2 separate regions of the Homo sapiens genome follow, and region 1 is linked to region 2. Evidence: promoter capture Hi-C in 16 types of primary human blood cells and fetal thymus (Javierre and others, 2016). All regions are on one chromosome and are shown on one strand. The core of a region is centred on a gene start or on the middle of the fragment in contact, and the rest is flanking DNA. Distances in the headings are between cores, read along the strand shown. Region 1 overlaps LOC105370507 (a long non-coding RNA gene). Region 2 holds the start of BMP4 (bone morphogenetic protein 4).

What was found. Contacts are between HindIII fragments. The CHiCAGO score rates a contact against its expected background, and 5 or more counts as called.
Region 1: a contact is called between a fragment that was not itself captured here and the fragment with the promoter of BMP4 in region 2, in 2 of 17 cell types (endothelial precursors and fetal thymus). The highest score is 11.3, in endothelial precursors.

Annotation. Positions count from the first base shown.
Region 1 is chr14:54,173,800-54,179,850 of GRCh38, reverse strand. The region is part of intron 4 of LOC105370507 (a long non-coding RNA gene); the gene reads left to right. Among named protein-coding and RNA genes, the nearest start is that of BMP4, 220 kb to the right of the region's middle. RefSeq lists a silencer at 1,666-1,960. The HindIII fragment of the contact is 1,103 bases long and covers 1,909-3,011 here.
Region 2 is chr14:53,952,427-53,958,604 of GRCh38, reverse strand. BMP4 (bone morphogenetic protein 4) reads left to right here and starts at 1,780. Exons shown (of 4, transcript NM_001202.6): 1 at 1,780-2,055; 2 at 5,205-5,329. LOC124903317 reads right to left here and starts at 4,423. Exons shown (of 2, transcript XM_047432035.1): 1 at 2,277-4,423. The coding sequence starts at 2,704. RefSeq lists silencers at 1,818-1,897, 2,547-2,656, 4,856-4,945, 4,996-5,065 and promoters at 612-1,954, 1-1,954, 3,857-4,177, 2,882-4,177, 4,349-4,849. The HindIII fragment of the contact is 12,206 bases long and covers 1-6,178 here.

The DNA of each region.
Region 1 (6,051 bases), core at 1,211-3,710, 220 kb before region 2:
TGTGATTTCCTCCTGCAAATGAAATGTAATTTGTACAAATAATCAAACTCTTCTTTTTTCTTTACCAGATTTGCACACCATATATTCAATGACAAGTCCTCTTGAAAGGTGATGGGAAGTGTTATTAAATTCCAAATATCTACTCCTCATCTGATAAAGCCATTCTGATGTTTGCAGTATGAATTTGATTTGCAGTTAGAATTCCCCACATTGAATACAAATCCCAAACAGCAAATTCAGCTCTGAATCTCTGGAAAATAGCATGTAATGGGTGGATCGATCCAACTAGAGTGTAAATTTGAGGTGCCGTGTGCTTTATCTGAGCATTAACAATTTATTCAGACCATTTTGTGTCCCATTTCCCACCCAAGCAAGTTGAGAACACTACATTTGCTTTTTACTTTTTTCCCTTCATGTTATGACACAAAATCGTTTCTCCAGTTTCAATTACTTTGATGATTGCAGCAGCAATGATTAAGAGAAAATACATCTTTGAAAGGGGCAGAAATATGGTAAGCCTTTCCCACTGATGGTAGCTAAAAAGCATATACTAAACAACTACAGAATACCCAGCACATTGATGGGTGCTGTGTGGTACAGAAAGAAGAAACAAGCCCCATAGGAGCTCACTGCAGACATATCTGAGTGAAGGAGTAAAGGGTTGGAGCTCAGGAAAGGGAAAAGCATATCATCATCTCATTGCTGGACTCTGATCCCTTAAAGCCCAAGTTGAGGAGGAAGTGGTCAGAAGAAAAGTGTATTTTTAGCCCCCTCCCATTTTAGAGACATTCTAAGATGGAGCTAGCAGGAGGAGAAGGATAGATATGGGATGGCAAACTGGTTTATTTGCAATAGGCTGGTTTTAATTCTCCACAGTAGTGAGTTTGAGGGCAATGCAATGCAAAGGACAACTTATTTATTTAATGTTAGGTTATAAGCAACCTTGAAGGCAAAAATCCTCCTCTTTTTGTCTTTTTATTTTTTTTTAACCCTCCATAGTATCCCGTCCAAAGGCAGCAGGTAAGTGGTAGGGTCCAGCCCTCAAAGAAGCTGATATTCTCCACCCACCTCCGTATACACTTGTAAGTTGAGAGCCAAATCCTCTGTCAGACACATTTTCCTTGTCAAATCATGCCCGTCCCACCTCACTGACACTGATAGTCCTGGGAGCCAATTCTGATGCCAACCTGTGTTGAACTCCTAGATGTGAGTGCACTTTCTTGAAGGGCAGGTTGGGCTAAAACTTGACCTTTGGGAGCTTTGAGAGGTGGGAAGAGGAGCAGAGGGCTGCCGGGGAGAGAGAGATTTCCTGGTTATTGCTATAGGGAGTCTGTTTACTTGCCTTCAAGGGTCACAGGCATCTGAATGGACTTCTCTGGCTCTGCTCTTGGGTTTGATTTCAGAGGACTTGGTCCTGTGGAATTCCACTCCCCATCGACCCTCCCCTTACTGTTAGGTATGGGACTTTTATTCCACAGTTATGACTCAAGCCTTCCTGAGGAGCACTGCAGCTTTCTTGCAGCAGCAGCAATTGGAAAGGCTGTTTTAAGTGGAGTTTACTGTTGTTGTATAAACCTTCATTTAAAATTGACTATAAAGTGTTTCTGAACCTGCCAAACACGCATTAAAATATTTTGCTCCATTTATGCCTATGTGTAACATTTGGTTTCTAAAAAGCTTTAATCAGTAATCTTCAAGTAGGAAGTTATTCATCTTTATTGCCAGTCGGTTCTCAGTGGTGGTCGTGGCAACAATCTTTTTATTGCTTCTGTGTTTAGTTGTTCTTTGACATGATAGAAGTCAGCCGCAGTTCAATGAGCTCACTATTTGTGCAACTTAATTGCTTGCTTCCTTCAATACATACTAAATTTTTCCTTTTATGAGCAGGGCTGTTGGAAAAATTAAGCTTAAGGATATAGCCATCCACTTTTAATTAACCTCCTTCCCAAACACATTAGTAAAATAGGTCAAATAACTGCTGAGTGCTAAGTGTACTGTTACTAAGGTCCTCCTCGGCTGAGAAGTGAATCCTGTATTAAGTGGACAAATATTGGAGCGTTGAGTATTTTCTGGAAGCCATGATGACATAAGAATAATGCTTTATAACAGTATTCTCTGCTGCACCATCTCCTCTAGGTTGTATGTATGGTTTGACTTTATCTGGCTCTACCATGGTTTTAGGTTATTTCGTTACATCTGTGTGAAATAAATAAAATATTTCTTTGGGTTTTGTTTTGTTTTTTGCTTTCTAGGTTATTGCTTCTTTTAAAGGGGGACCCAAAATTCAGCTTTTCCTTTTAGTAGTAACCCTGCTCTTATTTTGATTCACAATTCTTAGAATAATCTGGATATGTATAAATGCTTGTGATGAGTACAAAAATATGCTCAGTGAGGGAACTAATCTATCAAAATAGATTTATATAGAACTCTTATAATTCCTCTCCATGTCAGGGTTATATTCAGATGGAAAATCACTTTAATTGCAGCGGTGAAGGGCAGATTGGAGCTTTGCCAGCTTGACAGAAAATATTTTGAAGTTTATAGACCAAAAGAAAAAAAGAAAACGTGACAGTTTCCGAATTTGGCAGAAGGCAGGAAAATGTCAGGATATAGTTTATACTTTTAGAAAGGGGAACACAAAAGCAAAGACAATTAAAATGGGAGAATGTGCCAGATAGAGCTAAAGGTGAACATTTGTGATCTCTGTCCTCTATCTGCAGTTCCATGTTTAGCCTTTAAATGGGAGTGAGTGAAGAGTGAAGAGAAAAAGGAAACCCCCTCAACTGAATGCCAATAGACACAATAATTTCTTAAAAATGATTACTCAGTTATAATCTAATCTAAATCTTGCAGATTCATAGGTAGAGAATCTACGTTTCTCAAATAATCTGTTCTGATAAAATGACTACGTTTCTCAAATAACCTGTTCTGATAAAATGACTACGAGTTGGGTCAATACTTGTCCAGTGTATTTGTACCTCCTGACTTGGGTATATTTTCTGCATTAAGCTTAGTTATTGAGAAGCTTCTTGCAGCACCTTTTTTTCACTGTCGCATCAGAATGTCAGCGAATTGATGATATTCTGAACAGAATTGATGATGAAATGGTAAACTTTGTGGATCTTAGTTCGCCCACCTGCTAAAGAGGGGTAATGACCCTGTGCCAGTCTACACCCCAGGGGATTGTTAAAAAAGTTGATTAATCCTTGTCAGGAGTCTTAAGGCAAAAACATTTTCCCTGTGCCTTACTGTACCCCATCATGATGAGGCTTGCAGGAATGACTTCTTATTCGTTAGTTGTTAGTTATTTCTTTATATATATATATATTTTTTTTTTCGGAGTCTTGCTCTGTTGCCCAGGCTGGAGTGCAGTGGCACGATCTCAGCTCACTGCAACCTCAGTCTCCTGGGTTTAAGTGATTCTCTTGCCTCAGCCTCCCAAGCAGCTGGGATTACAATCACGCACCACCACACCTGGCTAATTTTTGTATTTTTCTGTAGAGACAGGGTTTCACCATGTTGGCCAGGCTGATCTCAAACTCCTGACCTCAAGTGATCCGCCCACCTCGGCCTCCCAAAGTGCTGGGATTACAGGCATGAGCCACCGCGTCCGGCTAGTTGTGGGTTCTAAAGGTTATTCTCTCTTATCTTTTGCCTGGTTAAGGCCTAAGATGCGAATGGCGATTGTTGACACATGGGAAATAGTTGAACCATCTGAAAGGTTAAGTATGGGAAGGGAGCACTGCATTTTCACATGCCTGCAGATGCTCTGGTGCCTGTCATTTCTGTGCTGGTCCACAGACTTCAGGCTGGGGTGGAGAGGGAGACTGTAACTTTTGGTGAAGGAAGAGCTGCTATGAATCAAAGTCAAGGGACTGAGTTAATGCTTTATTCCTGTCTAAACAATTAAGATGGCAAATTTCATACCTTTGGAAAGTTGAAAATACTTGTCTAAGAAAAGAAAAAAAAAGTGGAAGTCTAGGATTGACAGGTACGAGGAAATAAAGGATTTTGGAAACTTTCTGAGGCATTTAGTCTTGGTAATCATTTTTTTTTTGTATTCTTACACAGAGCCCTATTGCCAAGCTGCCTGAGGCAAATTTGCATGTGTTAGGTTTAACTCAGGCAACTTAGGTTTGCCTTTAAAATAGCCAAAACTTTGCCTCAGCATATGTTGGGTCATGTTAACCCTTCATGAATTGACATTTTGCTCATTTCATGGATTTGTCCACTATGGCTGTGGCTTTTCTAGCAGTCATTGGTAGACTTTAATTAAACAAATCCCGGAGGGAGACCTTGGAGCCACAAAAATACTTTCTACAACCAGCAGGTGGCACTGTGGATACTACAGTGGTGAAGAAACTGGGATATAGGAGGCAAAGATGAAAGCGGGGAGAACTCGGATAATGAGATAATATAAGCTAGTCTACAGATCTTTGAGAGGTTAACAGGGCATCTCAGAAAGCTATAAACCAGTCTCTGAATGTGGAAGGCTGCCATGGATTTGCCTTATAAGAACATTTCTCTGATTTTTAAAGTCTTTCCAGTGATACAATTGATATCTGCTTAAATTCTACTTATATGCTACTGCCCTGAGTTGAAAAACAAACTTGAACAGAAGATTTTTAGGTAATTTTAGAAATAAACATTTACACATATTCTAAAACCATAGCATGTAAAATAGGAACTCAAGCCTGGTGTATATAAAGTATTAAAAATTACATTTCATGCTTAGAGAATATTATTCACTAAGGAAACATGTTAATTTGATTTATTTTATTATATTAAAGAGATAGTAAGGACATTTTCTTGACCTGCATTAGCTTCTGCATTCTTTGTTGTCTATGATTCTCTTTAAGAATTTATTTGAAAGAGACTTCTGTAAATCAACTTTTATAACATACTTTTTGGGGTAAAGTTTGCTTCTTTGGAAGTTCATGTAGTGATTTATCTAGGTAATCAAATTGAATTCAGAGGTGGCAACGATTATTTACTTCCAAGTGAAATCTTCTTGAGATAGTAGGAATTGTCCATACTACCAGGGTTCTTTTGTGAGGGTTGGTGCTTTTTTCTTTTTTCCTGAGACATCAGAAGAAAACTTCTTTTGTAGCTTAGACCAGAGGCAGAGGCAGGTCCTGAGAAGGAAATGTAATTCCTCTCAATAAACATTTCCTAAGCTAAGGCCTCTTGGGAACACTGGCCTTTCTGCAGAAATGTGGACTTCTCTCCCTGACAAATTTATGCTCTCTGGGGGCAGATGTTTGAGCTACTTTTCCTCTCTGCCTCCAGCGGTAGAAAACAATTGTGTCCCTATGCTGGTGGAGTCCATTGTTCCAGAGGAAAGCTGAGGGGTTTGTGAATATGTGGAGGACTGCTGTAGAAATCAGTAATAGATTGATTATCGCATCCTACCTGAGGGCAAGGAACTGGGGATGGAAGTGGGAAGAGGAACAACAAAGCTAGATTTAGGATAAGGTGGCAGAACTTGAGATCTGACAGTGGCAGGTCAGAGTCTTAGGGGCCAGTTATAGTGACCTTAGACTCTTGCCCAAGTTCAGAACCTTACATGTTCTAGCCTGCCCGGTCTGGTGGGAGCTGAGGCAGCCATCTGGCTGAGTTGCTGAGGGAGGATGCTGTGAGTGGTCTCTCCACGTGACTGGAAAGTTTGACCAACTGAGGGGACCCAGGAATGGAAACCAGTTTACTGTATATTCAGAAACAGGGATATTTCTGATTCACCAGGGCAGGCCTCTCTCCTATTTCTTGGAACAGATTCCCTTCTTCTGAGTCTGGAGCCTGGGCAGTGCTTGAGCAGCAACAAGGAGCATAAGTTTCCTGTCACTTCCTCTTTGGCAGGTTGTGTCTGCAGACACTGGCTCCCATACCCCATAATTACTTTTTCACATTTTTTAATATAGTAACACATGGTTGGGCTTGTGGTGGGGGAACCAAGTGATGCCTCCAGGCCATGAACACTATAAATAACTTCAGGGATCATTTTATACGGTTAGGGAAGGAAGCAGCTTCTTTCTTAAGAAATAGCTTCAAGCA
Region 2 (6,178 bases), core at 531-3,030:
CCTGCCCTGTTTTAATCAGTGGTTCTTAGAGAAAGTGAACTCAGGAGTGACTTAAAATGAAGGAAGACGGACTTTGGCTAAAATTACAATTAAATAATCAAATCATTTTCAAATATAAAGGGAGCATGCAGATGATCTGGCCCAATCCTTTCATTCTGCAGATGAGAAAACTGAGACTCATAGGAATGAAAAGACTTGCCCAAAGCCATACAGCTTGTTTCTGTTGTTTGGTGCATTAGGCCAAAAGACCTAGGCCTAATAGATGGAAAAGATGGCAGGATGTCTTGGCCTTGCTCTGACAGTTGCTTCTCTGATCTCAGATATTTCCCACCCTTTGTAATCTGTGTTCCACACAGGAAGTAGTTCTTGTTTTTTAAATATCGAAGGTGTATAAACGTAAAGTTTTTATAGATGAGCCACCCAGGGCCAATATCTGTTTAAGTAAAGACCTAAATGCTTTGCAGAGACAGTAAAGTGTCATGTCTGTCCCAGGGAAAGAAATCCAGGACAGGAAATGCTCAGTCTTCCAGCACTCCTCTGGCTACCTGGAGCTCAGGCTATGAGCCTCAACCCCTCCCTGAAGCATTAGCTCTGGAGCAGAGGCTGTGATTTACTTCAGAGATCTGGGCAAGTCCCTTTAACCTGGTAGTCCTGCCTTTCCTTGTTTGTAAAACAGAGAGATGAGGCTGATAGCTCCCTCACAGCTCCATCAGAGGCAGTGTGTGAAATTAGTTCCTGTTTGGGAAGGTTTAAAAGCCACCACATTCCACCTCCCTGCTAATATGATTACTAAAATGTTTTTATATGAAAGGGCCAATTCCTCATCTCCCCTCTTCCTTTAAAAACAGACCAAGGGGCATCTTTTCTTGTCTCCCTGTGGCCTAAAAGGTTACTGCTTCTGTGGTTATCTCCTTGGAAAGACAGAGTGTCAGGACTCTTAGGTACACCAAAAATGAACAAAAAAATCAACAACAACCATAACACCAACAAAAATAACTGCTGTGTCGGTTCTTAAGACGGCTTCTGAGCTAGAAACAGATTTTTCTAACTGTAAAAAACGTGGCCCCAGCCTGTCTGCAGGCCACCTCTGTCTTTAGGCCTTGGGGGGAGGAGGGAAGTGAGCTCATTTACTGGGGTCTACCTCAGGGTCATCACCAAGGTGTTCTACAAAACGCACTTTAAGAATGTTTTGGAAGGAAATTCACCTTTTAACAGCCCAAGAGGTATCTCTCTCTGGCACACAGTTCTGCACACAGCCTGTTTCTCAACGTTTGGAAATCTTTTAACAGTTTATGGAAGGCCACCTTTTAAACCGATCCAACAGCTCCTTTCTCCATAACCTGATTTTAGAGGTGTTTCATTATCTCTAATTACTCAGGGTAAATGGTGATTACTCAGTGTTTTAATCATCAGTTTGGGCAGCAGTTACACTAAACTCAGGGAAGCCCAGACTCCCATGGGTATTTTTGGAAGGTACGGCGACTAGTCGGTGCATGCTTTCTAGTACCTCCGCACGTGGTCCCCAGGTGAGCCCCAGCCGCTTCCCAGAGCTGGAGGCAGCGGCGTCCCAGCTCCGACGGCAGCTGCGGACTCGGGCGCTGCCTGGGCTTCCGGGACCCGGGCCTGCTAGGCGAGGTCGGGCGGCTGGAGGGGAGGATGTGGGCGGGGCTCCCATCCCCAGAAAGGGAGGCGAGCGAGGGAGGAGGGAAGGAGGGAGGGGCCGCCGGGGAAGAGGAGGAGGAAGGAAAGAAAGAAAGCGAGGGAGGGAAAGAGGAGGAAGGAAGATGCGAGAAGGCAGAGGAGGAGGGAGGGAGGGAAGGAGCGCGGAGCCCGGCCCGGAAGCTAGGTGAGTGTGGCATCCGAGCTGAGGGACGCGAGCCTGAGACGCCGCTGCTGCTCCGGCTGAGTATCTAGCTTGTCTCCCCGATGGGATTCCCGTCCAAGCTATCTCGAGCCTGCAGCGCCACAGTCCCCGGCCCTCGCCCAGGTTCACTGCAACCGTTCAGAGGTCCCCAGGAGCTGCTGCTGGCGAGCCCGCTACTGCAGGGACCTATGGTGAGCAAGGCTACCTGGTGAGGGGAGACAGGCAGAGGGGGTCTAGGAGCCTCCTTGGGGGGAAGAAGCTGGTCACAGGCTGTGACCGAGGCAAAAGGTGGCCTAATTATTTTCCAATAGTGGTGCTGGAGGTGGGGATGCTGGCGCTGAAAGACCTTTAAATATCGGCTACTGCCCCTGCCCAGGCCTTCTCTGTCCAGCAGTCCCTGGGAGATTCTCACCTTTGGGAAGTGCGGGGCAGGAGAGCAGAAACAAGAGAAGCCCTTGGTAGGGGGGTCGTTGGGAAAAACTGTGGGGTCTTGGGCTGAACGCGTTGCCCACGGGCTGGAGGTTGCGATCCCCGGACGGAAAGCGCGGGAGGAGGAAGGAGAGAACCGGCTCTGAGGTCCAGAGAGAGTGAGGGGGCAGAGCGACGGCGAGATGGGGAGAGAACACCTAGCTGGAGCAGGTTCTGCGGTAGAGAGCGCAGTCCTGCTGGCCTCTGGAGAGTGCGCGCCGCTCCGGAGGCTGCGTCGAGGGGAGTGTCACCCAATCTGGCCCCCAGCTGGCGGGGCGCCCTGAGAGCTTGCGAACTGCAGTTGCAGGACGCGCCTTCTCCACGAGCTATTTTCGTCGACTTGCGGAACCCAAGGAACCTCGCCTCTATCATTTCACGGTGTAGGGTCCCTAGAGACGACAGCCAAGATCCCAGGGGCTCCCAGGACGCTTGTTCCTGCGGTGTCGTGTCCTATGGGGAGTTCCTGGCGGGACGAAAGGCGGACGCGCGGCTCTTCCTGGCCCTCCAGGCCCGGAACCGACGGGAAAGGTTCCCGTGATTCCCGAGTCCCTGCAGGCTTCTTCCAGCGGGAGTTGGTCCGGGGGCCTTAGAGGCCTCCAAGCACTGCTTTGGAGGATGGTTTCCAAGGATCGCGGTTTGTGAGTTGAAGGCTTTGTGAGAGGTTAAACCCCCAAAAGATACATACTTGGTAAACTGAGGCTACCTGTAAACACATTTCGGCATTAGGAGAAGATTCGAGTAGGGAAGTGAAGGACAACCACCCCGAGTTACATTCCTTTCCCCCAATAAAAAGCTCTGGGGATGAAAGTTCTTTTGGCTTTTATCTTTTCGATTTAAAAATTTGAGAAGAAAAATGTGACTAGAGATGAATCCTGGTGAATCCGAAATTGAAACACAACTCCCCCTTCCCCTTCCTATCCTCTCGGTTTTAGAACCGCGCTCTCCCGCCCCAGGAGATTCCTTGGGGCCGAGGGTTTTCCGGGGAACCCGGGCGCCCGCCCCTTCTACTGTCCCTTTGCCCCGCGGGCACAGCTTGCCTCCGTCTGCTTTCTCTACTTCTGGACCTCTCCTCGCCGGGCTTTTTAAAGGGCTTCTGCGTCTCAAAACAAAACAAAAAAACCCTTTGCTCTTCCCAACCCTTTCGCAGCCCGCCCCAGCGGTGGCGCGGGACCAGCAAAGGCGAAAGCCGCGCGGCTCTTGCCGGGCGCGGACGGTCGCGCAGGGGCGCCCGCGGCCTCCGCACCCGGACCTGAGGTGTTGGTCGACTCCGGGCATCCACGGTCGGGAGGGAGGGCTGAGCTGTTCGATCCTTTACTTTTCTTCCTCAAAGTCTACCTGCCAATGCCCCTAAGAAGAAAACCAAGTATGTGCGTGGAGAGTGGGGCGGCAGGCAACCCGAGTTCTTGAGCTCCGGAGCGACCCAAAGCAGCAACTGGGAACAGCCTCAGGAAAGGGAGGTCGGGTGGAGTGGGCTTTGGGGCAGGAGTCATGGGGCCCGGGCCCCGGGGACGACCTGGCGCTCCCGGCCCTGCTGAACGCTGAGTTGCGCCTAGTCGGGTTTTCGAAGAGGCCCTTGCGCAGAGCGACCCACGCGCGCGGCAGCATCTTCGATTAGTCAGGACATCCCAGTAACTGCTTGAACTGTAGGTAGGTAAAATTCTTGAAGGAGTATTTGCTGCGTGCGACTCTGCTGCTGGTGCAACGGAGGAAGGGGGTGGGGGAAGGAAGTGGCGGGGGAAGGAGTGTGGTGGTGGTTTAAAAAATAAGGGAAGCCGAGGCGAGAGAGACGCAGACGCAGAGGTCGAGCGCAGGCCGAAAGCTGTTCACCGTTTTCTCGACTCCGGGGAACATGGTGGGATTTCCTTTCTGCGCCGGGTCGGGAGTTGTAAAACCTCGGCCACATTAAGATCTGAAAACTGTGATGCGTCCTTTCTGCAGCGACGCCTCTTTCTGAATCTGCCCGGAGCTTCGAGCCCCGGCGTCTGTCCCTCAGCCTGGCATGGCTTCTTCGGGGGTCTGCTTTGCATGGGGAGAGGGGCCACGCAGCGGCGGACTAGGTTTGGGGATTCTCGGTAATGGACCCGGAGCAATGACTAACAGCCGCTCCCTCTCACTTTCCCACAGCGATCACCCTCTAACACCCTCCCTCCCATTCCCGGCCCCGCGCGTGACAAGGTCGGCTGCTTTCAGCCGGGAGCTAGATCGGTGGCCCGGCTCTTCGGAGCCTTAGCAGGCGTTCGCCAAGGGGTGACTGGCTGTCATTGGGAGCAATATTTGGCCTTGAGGAGACCCTGGGGAGGAAGTGGCGGGGAGCTCGTGTTTGCTTGTGTGTGTGTGGGGGGGTGTGTGTGTACACGCGCGTGGGCAGGGTCCCTCTGCGCTTTCCTTTTTAAGTGCCTCTCGGTGGTGAGGCTTTGGGCGGGTGAGACTTTCCCGACCTCGCTCCCGGCCCCACTTAAGCCGGGTTCGAGCTGGGAGACGCAGTCCCTTCAGTGCGCCCCAAATCCTCTGGCTTCAGGTGGCCCGGCGCGGGGGCCCAGCACGACGCACCGCGCCGAGAACCGGGTTCTCCGTGCGCTGCGCCAGTAGCCCTGGGAGCGCGGCGGCCGCGGGGCACCGGCCGAGGGCTCTGCCGAGCGCCGCCGGGAGCTCCTCCCGGACCGCTGAGGCTCGGGCGGCGGGCGCGGAGGTTGGCCTCGCCTGGAGGGGCGGGCCCGCGAGGGGCGGGGGGCTGTGGAGGAGGGGAGGGCGCGCAAGCCCTTTCGCCGCCTGCCGCGGGAGGGGCCTCGGCGCTCACGTGACTCCGAGGGGCTGGAAGAAAAACAGAGCCTGTCTGCGGTGGAGTCTCATTATATTCAAATATTCCTTTTAGGAGCCATTCCGTAGTGCCATCCCGAGCAACGCACTGCTGCAGCTTCCCTGAGCCTTTCCAGCAAGTTTGTTCAAGATTGGCTGTCAAGAATCATGGACTGTTATTATATGCCTTGTTTTCTGTCAGTGAGTAGACACCTCTTCCTTCCCCCTCCCCGGAATTCACTCTGCCCTCACCACCCCTGCTCGCCGGCTGTCCCTTCCGTCGGACCTCCTTTACAATATCCACACTCTGCTCCCTGGCAGCACTGTCGCTCCCTTCTTGGCCCGGCAGCCGGGGCGCTGGAAGCGTACGGGTTCCTTTTAAAGTGCTGCTAGCGCGCACTCGCCCTCTCAGCGTTGCAAGAAAGGGGAGCGCGAGGGAGCTAAAGAGATGAAAGCCCGGGGTTGTACCTTGAGGGCTAACCACTCCCTTCCCCTATCCAACTTGTCTGGGAGAGCCCCCAGTGTCTCCGTGGCGCGTTCCCACTCTCTTGTCAAAACTCACAGAGGTCTCTCCGGAATCGTCTCTCACCCCTTCCCTGGGGATGAGCGGGCACGATCAGGCACTTTTGGCTGAATATTTCAAACTCATCGGCCACAATAAAATAAGCCCTCAAGCCACCCGGTTAGCTCCCAGACCACCTTCTCGGCTTCTGGACCCTGTCGCCCTCTGTCTTCGCCCAGCCCCTGCCTCTCACTTTCCCTCCCTCTGGCTCTGAACCAACTGGAAGTTGTGAAAGTTGGGCTCTGAGGGTGGAGGAAAAGGGAGAGAAGCTGAAGGTCTAAAGTGGAGAGCAATGCCATTTTAATTCTCCCTCCCCCACCCCTTTTCACCCCCTCAATGTTAACTGTTTATCCTTCAAGAAGCCACGCTGAGATCATGGCCCAGATAGCAGTTAGGACAAAAAAAGATTAACAGGATGGAGGCTATCTGATTTGGGGTTATTTGACTGTAAACAAGTTAGACCAAGTAATTACAGGGCAATTCTTACT